Linked DNA regions of Homo sapiens: region 2 is linked to region 1. Evidence: promoter capture Hi-C in 16 types of primary human blood cells and fetal thymus (Javierre and others, 2016). All regions are on one chromosome and are shown on one strand. The core of a region is centred on a gene start or on the middle of the fragment in contact, and the rest is flanking DNA. Distances in the headings are between cores, read along the strand shown. Region 1 holds the start of RRM1 (ribonucleotide reductase catalytic subunit M1). Region 2 has its middle 3.4 kb from the start of TRIM68.

Region 1 (4,634 bases), core at 899-3,398:
GACAAGTGGCTCCCCTGGCCAGGAGAGCCACAGCCATGATACAGGGCTCTTATGGAGCCCTGGAGTTGTTGGGCAAGGATGCTGTCATTTTTTGAACCAAAAGACAAACAGGTTAAAAGGAAAAAAAGTAATCTGAATTTCCCAAGTGCCTACGCTGCATATTCCCCTTGTTAGATCCCATTTTCATGTTACTTTGTAGCCTTGGCCAGAGGCTCAAAAAGGACACAACCAGTTTGGGGAAGGGGTGGCTAAGGAAGATGGTATAGGTGAAGGCGGCTGTGTGACCACTTTCCCCCACCCTTCCCACCCTCTAGACAACTCTCTCCCTTACCTGTTTTTGCTATGGCTGTAAAGGTATTTTTCCTCTGCCCCACTCCCTGCCATACCTTTATCCTGGGATCCTATTTTGGGCCTGGGGTGGGTATACCTGGGGCTGGTCTTAGGAGGGTGCTAGGCTGCAGACTGCCTTGTACTCCCTGGACACCCTCAAATGGGGTTTTCTGTGTTATTTCATAAAATTCTTTGAAGTCCAATAAAGCATGTAGGAGATTTTAACCACTGCTGGCTTTGACTCTCATTGTGTTCTCTGTGCTGTGGCATGATGGGATAAAGAGACAATCTTTCCTTTGCCCAGGGAAAATGAAACTTGAATGCACATGCCCAGAAGCTCTGTGGGCAGGGTTACCAGATAAATGCAGGATGACCAGTTAAATGTGAATTTCAGATAAACAGTTTTTAAAGTATAATTTTCTCTCATGCAGTATCTGGGACACATTTTTATTTGCTAAATTGGGAAACCCTATGTCTGGGTAAACTTGACCCTATCTATCCTATAACTTCACTTACGACTTTTAAAAAACATATCTATTTAATTTTTCTTTCTTTTTTTTTGTTTTTTTTGAGACGGCGTCTCACTCTCTTGCCTAGGCTAGGGTGCAATGGCGCGATCTTGGCTCACTGCAACCTCTGCCTCCAGCGTTCAAGCGATTCTTCTGCCTCAGCCTCCTGAGTAGCTGGGATTACAGGCGCGTGCTACCATGCCTGGCTACTTTTTGTATTTTTAGCAGCGGGGGGGTTTCACCACGTTGGTTAGGCTGGTCTCGAACTCCTGACCTCGTGATCTGCCCGCCTTGGCCTCCCATAGTGCTGGGATTACAGGAGTGAAGCACCGCGCTGGCCTACTTTTTCTATTTTTTGTAGAAATGGGGTCTCACTATGTTGCCCAGGCTTATCTCAACACCTGGCCTCACATGATGCTCCCGCCTTAGCCTCCCAAAATGCTGCAATTACAGGCTCACTTACGACTTTCCATGATTTTTGAAATTACTTCACAGGGAGCCTGGGCAGCTTCTGGAGGGCAGTGAGAAACCAACGAAAAGGCTTTAGGGAAAAGATGCCACAGATGAAATTTCATAAAGATCGCTTTGGGTAGCCCAAATCAGAAGCTTCTACACCAGCCTTACATATTACGGTTCTCATCTATTCTTATTCTCCACTCTAAGTCACCAAGTCCATCCTACCTCCACAAGGCAAATACCCTGTCTCTGCCACCATCCACTGAAGAACCCTAAAAGCAAATGGGTACTGACCCTGCCCTGCTTAAAATTCTCTCAGGGCTCTGATTTGCGTCAGGATAAAATCCAAACGCCATCGGCCTTGCGCGGTTTTCTTCCAGTTCCAGAGTGTCAGTCCTCTGGCCGATCTAAAAGCCCTGGGGCTCCAAGCTGCCCACGGCTGTGGAGCCTGGGCTGGAGCCCACAGCGGACGGCAGTGTTAGTATTATTATAATAAATGTCAGAGCAAGAAAAACGTTCCCGCCGGTTAGGTTTTGTTATTTCAAAAATAAATTAACCGCCTTTCCTCCGGCGGAGACGCGCAGGTGAGAGGGCGGCGCCTGACCCAGCGGGCTCTAGGTGCTACGCCAGGGCCCCGAGGGTCCCGAACTCGGCTTGCCCACACAAAACATGGTAGCAGGAGAGCAGCATTTCCGCCGGGCATGTCCATATCCAATGGGGCCCATGGGAGAGGCGTAGTCTTCTGGGTCTTGCCCAGACTCAACATGGCGGCTACACGTCGCCTGTCAGTCTGTGAAGCCTACCCCGGGCGTGGGCCGCAGCGTCGAGTAACGTCATTCGAACCCCGTCGCGCCCCTTTGTGCGTCACGGGTGGCGGGCGCGGGAAGGGGATTTGGATTGTTGCGCCTCTGCTCTGAAGAAAGTGCTGTCTGGCTCCAACTCCAGTTCTTTCCCCTGAGCAGCGCCTGGAACCTAACCCTTCCCACTCTGTCACCTTCTCGATCCCGCCGGCGCTTTAGAGCCGCAGTCCAGTCTTGGATCCTTCAGAGCCTCAGCCACTAGCTGCGATGCATGTGATCAAGCGAGGTGAGGGGGGGACGAGGTGGGCGAGAAGGAAGGTGAGGGGATGCGGGCTGCCGCCGCCGGAGCTGATGCCCAGACCGCCCGCCCGCCTTCGCTGCTTCCCGCCTTTCCCGCATTTCCCGCCGCGGCCTTCCGCCCTGTCAGCCCGCTCGGCCTTCTGTCTTCAGTCAGCCTGCCCCGAACCTCCTTCGGGCCTTCAGGCTGCGCCCCCTCGGCTTTGTCATCCTGCCGCCTTTCAAAAGGATAACACTTACCCCGTATCGAGTAGTGACTGCGTACGCCGAGCACTTGCCAGGCACTATTTTATTCCTCCCTGCAAGCCTCTGAGAGATGATTAGCTTATTACAGATGAGGAAACTGACGCTCAGAGCGAGGTGTCGCCGACTGACCCAAAGTCACCCATAGGTGACAATACGGTTTGATTTGAAAACCGTGGGGTTGGTGAGCTGTCTTAGGCACAGGGTCGGGGGGCAGCTAGGAAAGAAGGAGGGGGCCTCTCTACCCTCCGTAGGCACTTGTCAGTTTACTGATCTCTTTTGTGGGGTGAGGATAGGAGTGTGGCGTGGAAAAAACAGATCCCAGACAGACAGCACCCTCGAGTTCCTTTCCCTTCATGGGAAGAGATGCTGAATCAGAGAAGGGTGGCTGAGACATCTTCTGACAAGATGGGGACTGGGAAGAGTCAGGAACTCGTATTCTTTCTCAACAGTTCTTTTTCATTAGACTTGCCAAGTGCCCGCTTTGTGCCCAGCCCTTTGCTTGGCTTTGTGAGATTGTAGGAGGAGACAGTCCCTGCCTTGGGAACAGGCTTCATCGGGTTGGAAAAACAAGAGCAACATACTTTTAACAACCGCATGAGATACGTATGAACAAGTTTTGAGTTGAACCTACTTGCCTTTGTTAAAGCAATACAATGATTTCAAAATTGTAGGCACTTAGTAAATACTGGTTAATCGACTGGTTGTTTCTATTTTGTCCTCTAGGCTGTGAACATTTCAAAGATGGAGACTTGTTTGAGACAGAGTCTTGCTCTGTCACCCAGGATGGAATGCAGTGGTGTAATCATAGCTTACTGTAACCTTGAAGTCCTGGGCTCAAGCGATGCTCTTGCCTCAGCCTCTCAAGTAGCTGGGACTATAGGCATGCACCACCATGAGTGGCTAATTTTTAAAAATTTCTGGTAGTAAAGGAGTCTTGCTGTGTTTCCCAGTCTGGCCTTGAATTCCTGGCCTCAAACCATCCTCCCTTCCTTGGCTTCCCAAAGTGCTGGGAATACAAGCAAGATGGAGACTTTTCTGTTCACGTTTAGCACAGGACCTGACATGAACAGATTCTTAAAGAATGAATGAAAATAGTTGTATCAAAATGTAGGACACGATGAATGCTGTGAATAAGCAGGTAGTTGATTTGGTTTAACTACAGCCAATGTCCAGATTGGTTTAACTACAGACAAGAGTTGGAAAGGTGGACAGTAGTGGCCTTTCTTGTTTTTGGTATCTTGAGAACATCATTCTGTGAATTTTCCTAGCTCACATTTTAGCTGACCAAAGAGCAAAATAACATAGTGCACTTTTATTGATCCATTCATAAGAGTGAGAGCTGAGCATCTATTTTTGTATTTTTATTTTTTTACATTATTATTTATTTGTATTTTTTTAGAGAAGGAGTCTCGCTATGTTGCCCAGGCTTGTCTTGAACTCCTGGGCTCAAGCATTCTTCCCACTTCAGCCTCCCAAAGTGCTTGGATTACAGTGCTGGGAGCCACCGCACCTGGCTTGAGCATCTATTTTTTAAATCTTTAGATATGGGAGAGATGTTTAGGATGGTCTATGATAAGTCAGTAACAAAGATGAATTGAAAATGTATGGACTTAGATGACCAGAATGGGTAAAATTCAACCCTGTGTTGAATTTTGAACTTTTAGAGTCTACTTCTAAATACTTTCGTTTAAAAAGTGCTACCTTGGCCTGGCGTGGCAGGGCATGGTGGCTCACGCCTGTAATCCCAGCACTTTGGGAGGCTGAGGTGGGTGGATCATTTGAGGTGTGGAGTTTGAGACCAGCTGGGCCAACATGGTGGAACCCCGTCTCTACTAAAAACACAAAAGTTAGCCGGACGGTAGTGGTTTGCACCTGTAATCCCAGCTACTCAGGAGGCTGAGGCAGGAGAATCGCTTGAGCCTGGGAGGCAGAGGTTGCTGAAATCGTGCCATTGCACTCCAGTCTAGGCGACAGAGTGACACTCTGTCTCAAAAAA
Region 2 (4,449 bases), core at 981-3,480, 520 kb after region 1:
AGTTGGTTGTACTGCTCTGGAATCTCTGTGAAGTTAAAACAGTTAATGGGGAGATCATTTTCATGTGTAAGGTGCAATTTGTAACTATGACGGACTGTCAAGAACCCTGGCAATCAGGGTAGCTGGGGGTGGGGGCTTGCGTTCATGTGGGGAAGGCTGGAGAGAGGGCTTTTGAAGACAGACCAGTTTACTTCCAAGGCATAGAAGCTTTCCTTTACAGATGTCTTCAGAATGTTTTGTTTGTTTCTTTATTTGTTTGCTGTGAGACAGGTGTGTCCAGGTGAGGCTCTGTCGTGGACAAATTCCACAGCTGTAGCTGCAGACCCCAACCCTCTGCCCTGAATCCAGGATAGACCAGGACAACAAGATGAGTGGCTAACTGTAGGATGGTGTCCATCTGTGCTCTAGGGGAGGAGTAGCATCAAAGGAGAAGCAAGAACTGAGAACTGTTTGGGGCACTGAAGAAGTAGGACTAAGGAAGAGTTAGGGGGTTAGTACAAATCTGAGGCCTGGTTTTCTGGAAAGAGACCAGAGACTGACCTTATTGCATGTCATACAACATGCTTGCTTAGAGACCCCTAATTTATTTTCTTCTCTTACTCTTTCTGAGGAAGCATGAGCCACACCCTCAGTTAGTTTTGTATAATCTTAGGCTTGATGAGAATATAATCTTAGTCTTGAAGGCTTTAAAGGGGAAGAAATAGCTGTCTGTGTTAGTGGTGTGTCAGTCAGCAGGAGAACCTGCTAGGGGTGGAAGGAGGAGGGTAGGAGTATAGCCTAGACCATGAGTAGATACCCCGCTCCACCTTGAAAGTCTCCTACTGGACCTCTTATGATGGAGTTAATACCTCCTGTTTCCTCTATTCCAGATTGTTTTCAGTTTCCAGAAGGCAAAACTGACATCTCCCAGGAGTCCAAGTAGGAGATTAGGGCCTCCCGTCCCTATCTACTCAGTGCTAGCCTTGGCTAAGAGAGAGGAAATTCCTGCCTAGAGGGGAAAATCTGCAGGACTTCGTTACCACTTTCACTTTGGCAGAGGAAGGAGGTCAGGGATGGAAGGGGAAGTGAGTCTAGAAATTAAAACATAGAATTCTGTCTACAGGTGGTGGAGAGCCTTTCTGAAAGTGCTTCTGGGTTGAGGCTGTCACCTAGATTTTATATTAGAGTTTAAGTGTTCCAAAAAATTAAGAAGCAGGAAGTAGAAAAGAGAGAACAATTTCAGAAGCAGACGAAAGGAACAGTAATAGGAAGATCTAGCAAGGATGTGGTGGGGCAGTTTCAGTGTGAGATGCCATGGACAGGAAAATGGCAGCATATGTGTGTGTGTGTGTGTGTGTGTGTGTGCATGAGACAGAGAGACATAAATAACTAAATAAAAAGGTATATATCAGAATATAGATGTATATTACAATAGCAATTGTTAATAGTGACACACAACTAACAGTAAGACTTTTGTACAGTGGGAAGCAGAACAAGCCAAATGCTGTTATTAGTTTTGATATCAGAGTTGCATTAGATTAAAACAAGAAGAAGTAGCTTTATATGTCCTTGTATTTGATGTCTAATTCAAGTTCTTTAAATGTCGAATCTGTTTCAGTAAGTTACTATTCTCAAAGTATCAGTGTCTCCATGGTTATGAACAATTACACAAATAATTATTTTTATTTTTATTTGCCATTACTTTGAGTTTTTTTCTTGATTCTAATCCCTGATATTATATATTTACCACTACTTTATGTTTTTTTTTCTGAGTGACATATCTTTCTTTCCAAAGATCTGTCTAATTGATTGTTCCTTTCAAAGAACCTGTTAATTTGTTATTTCAATTTTTTTCTGATTTTATCTTTATTATTTTTTCTTGATTTATTTTACTTATATTTATTGTCTTATTTTTCTTGCTTCTTGCATTGATTGAGGAGTGTAAAGTTTTCCCTAAATATAAGTCAGGCTATATACCATAAATCATCTTGGTGCTTTCGTTATCATTTGTTATTAAAAAAATTATTAAGCACAGTTTCAAATTTGCTTTTCTCTTGAAATTACTTAATTAAATTGAAATTCTCTCTCTATATATATAATTTATTTAGGTTTGTTAGCATTTTATAACCACAATGCAATAAGAGTTTAAAAAATGCCATTATAACTTATCATTTGGGAAACTGTTTTGTGGCCAACTATATAATTGCATTATATAATTGTTCAGAAGGTACTGGAAGAGAAGGCATATTCTCTATAGTGGAAAATACTAAATTATATAGTCTTCTTATCAGAGTGTAAAATGTGTTTGTAGGGATTTGGCCTAACTCATTGCCACGTGAATAGCAGACAACTGAGAGAAGAGCCAGTCAATCAAAATGCCTACTAAAAACAAGAGTTGAAAATGCCAGAAACCTATTTTAAGCATAAAAAGGACTTATTAAAGAACATTTGGTAGTCCATTGATGATGTATGCAGGAACATCATCAAATTACCCCATAGGTCCACTCTGATGGAACTACCACTACTGGCTCCATTGAGCATAGTCAACTAGGATCTCACTCCTAAACCTGGGTGCAGAGACTGACACTAGAATCTCTGCCTCTGATATCTCTGGAAGATTTACTCTTCTGTCAGCACTCTTCACCAGAATGATTCAATGTGGCATTTTGCTTTTATTTTCCTAGCTTCTGAATTGGCTTCCTGGAGGTGTGCATGATTGACAGCACTTAGACAAAATGCCTTCTCCCATGGTGGGTGATTATTCCCATCTATTTTCTCCCTTTTTGTGAGGGGGACATACAATCTCATCCATTGCCTCATGACTCACAGTGCTTCCCGATAGCTGGAGAATGCTTTCTAGGACATTATGAGACTTGGCTATATGACCATCTTGGGTCGTTGAAATAGGAATGGAGGGAAGTGTTTCAGTTCCATAGAGAAGCTCTAAGAGACATTTCATGTTTGTACCACCTTTTGTTGTTTTCTCATTGTCACAATAAAGGCATATCACAAAGAGGGGCTCCTGCTTCAGCTTGAGTCCTGGATGCAAAGACATGTGGACTGGGATCCTAGCAACCTATCTGCAGCCAAGGACATGACGTGTGAGTGAAAACATTTGTTGTATGCCCCTGAGATTTTGGATTTTCTGTCATGGTATGAAAGCTGATTAATTAGGTAGGAAGGTGACTTCTATGGCTTTTCTTTGGGAGAAGTAGACGCCCCAAGAAAAGGAAAATTGGTCAAACATAGGAAGAGCACTCAAGTGCCAGCTACAGTGAATGACAAATACCCACCACAAGCACAAGCTCTACATTCACAAAAACTTGGAAAACACAAGTAAGTCCTCAGAACAAAACATGGCTACCACATAGTATAATAGCTCATTCCCTAGTCAAAGAGAAATTTAGATCCACATTGCCATCACTGGCCACAGTCCTTAAAGAGAATTATAATGCTCTCTGGGGAGAGACCAGAAAGGAAACACAAGGGGAAAAAACAGGATTGATGGTTTCAGGTTTTCAGAACTGTTTTATTTGTCAGTTGGTGTCTATCGTTTGGTGTCTAGAGCCCGGAAATTAACTCAGGATATACCTAATGTTAAATGACGAGGTGATGGGTGCAGCACACCAATATGGCACATGTATACATATGTAACAAACCTGCACATTGTGCACATGTACCCTAAAACTTAAAGTGTAATAATAATAAAATTAAAAATAAATAAATAAATACATAAAAAGAAGAGTGAAACTATGATTTCCTTACAATGTGAGAAAAAAATCCACCTATTTAAATAATTTTTTATTTGAAGGAAATGGTGTATGAAACACTTCTGTTTTCTCAAATTAAAATTTGCAATATGCCATTCTTCCCTTAAGTATTATGCATATTACAAAACCTCCACACTTCCTTTTCCATCTCCTCTTTGTCCATTTTGTTCCAAGCACCCCAGTGCAGCATTGAGAGTATTCTTTAGGGAGAAACAGCTACATTCTTTTGGGCAGTGTCTTGGTCAATTTATGCTGTTATAACAAAATACCTGAGACTGAGTAATTGATAAAGAATAGAAATGTATTTCTCACAGTTCTGGAGACTGGGAAGCCTAAGACCAAGTCACTGGCAGGTTAGGTGTCTGGTGAGGGCCTGGTACCTGCTTCCAAGATGGGACCTTAAACTCTGTGCCCTACAGAGAGGATGAATGCTGTGTCTTCGTCTTCACATGGCAGAAAATGCAGAAGGGCAAGAGGGCTTAATGCATCCCTTCCAGCCCTTTTATAAGCTTGCTAATCGCATTCATGAGGGCAGAGCCCTCCTGGCTTAATCACTTCCTAAAGGCTCTATTACTTAATACGATCACACTAAGTTCCAATATATAAAGTTTAGAGGGACAAATATATTCACACCATGTCAAACAAGATGCATTCTATTGAGCAAAAATACATTTCAAAAAAAGTTTAAGGCCTGACATTT

The links. The method cuts DNA at HindIII sites, captures the fragments that hold promoters and counts their contacts. A CHiCAGO score of 5 or more calls a contact.
Region 2: a fragment that was not itself captured here is called in contact with the fragment with the promoter of RRM1 in region 1 in 1 of 17 cell types (naive CD8 T cells); the score reaches 5.6 in naive CD8 T cells.

The regions. Positions count from the first base shown.
Region 1 is chr11:4,092,651-4,097,284 of GRCh38, forward strand. It overlaps RRM1 (ribonucleotide reductase catalytic subunit M1), which reads left to right and starts at 2,149. Exons shown (of 19, transcript NM_001033.5): 1 at 2,149-2,381. The coding sequence starts at 2,363. STIM1 (stromal interaction molecule 1) reads left to right here. Exons shown (of 13, transcript NM_001382567.1): 13 at 1-558. RefSeq lists enhancers at 1,779-1,848, 1,909-2,378. The HindIII fragment of the contact is 7,950 bases long and covers 1,444-4,634 here.
Region 2 is chr11:4,609,447-4,613,895 of GRCh38, forward strand. No RefSeq gene overlaps it. Among named protein-coding and RNA genes, the nearest start is that of TRIM68, 3.4 kb to the left of the region's middle. The HindIII fragment of the contact is 4,051 bases long and covers 206-4,256 here.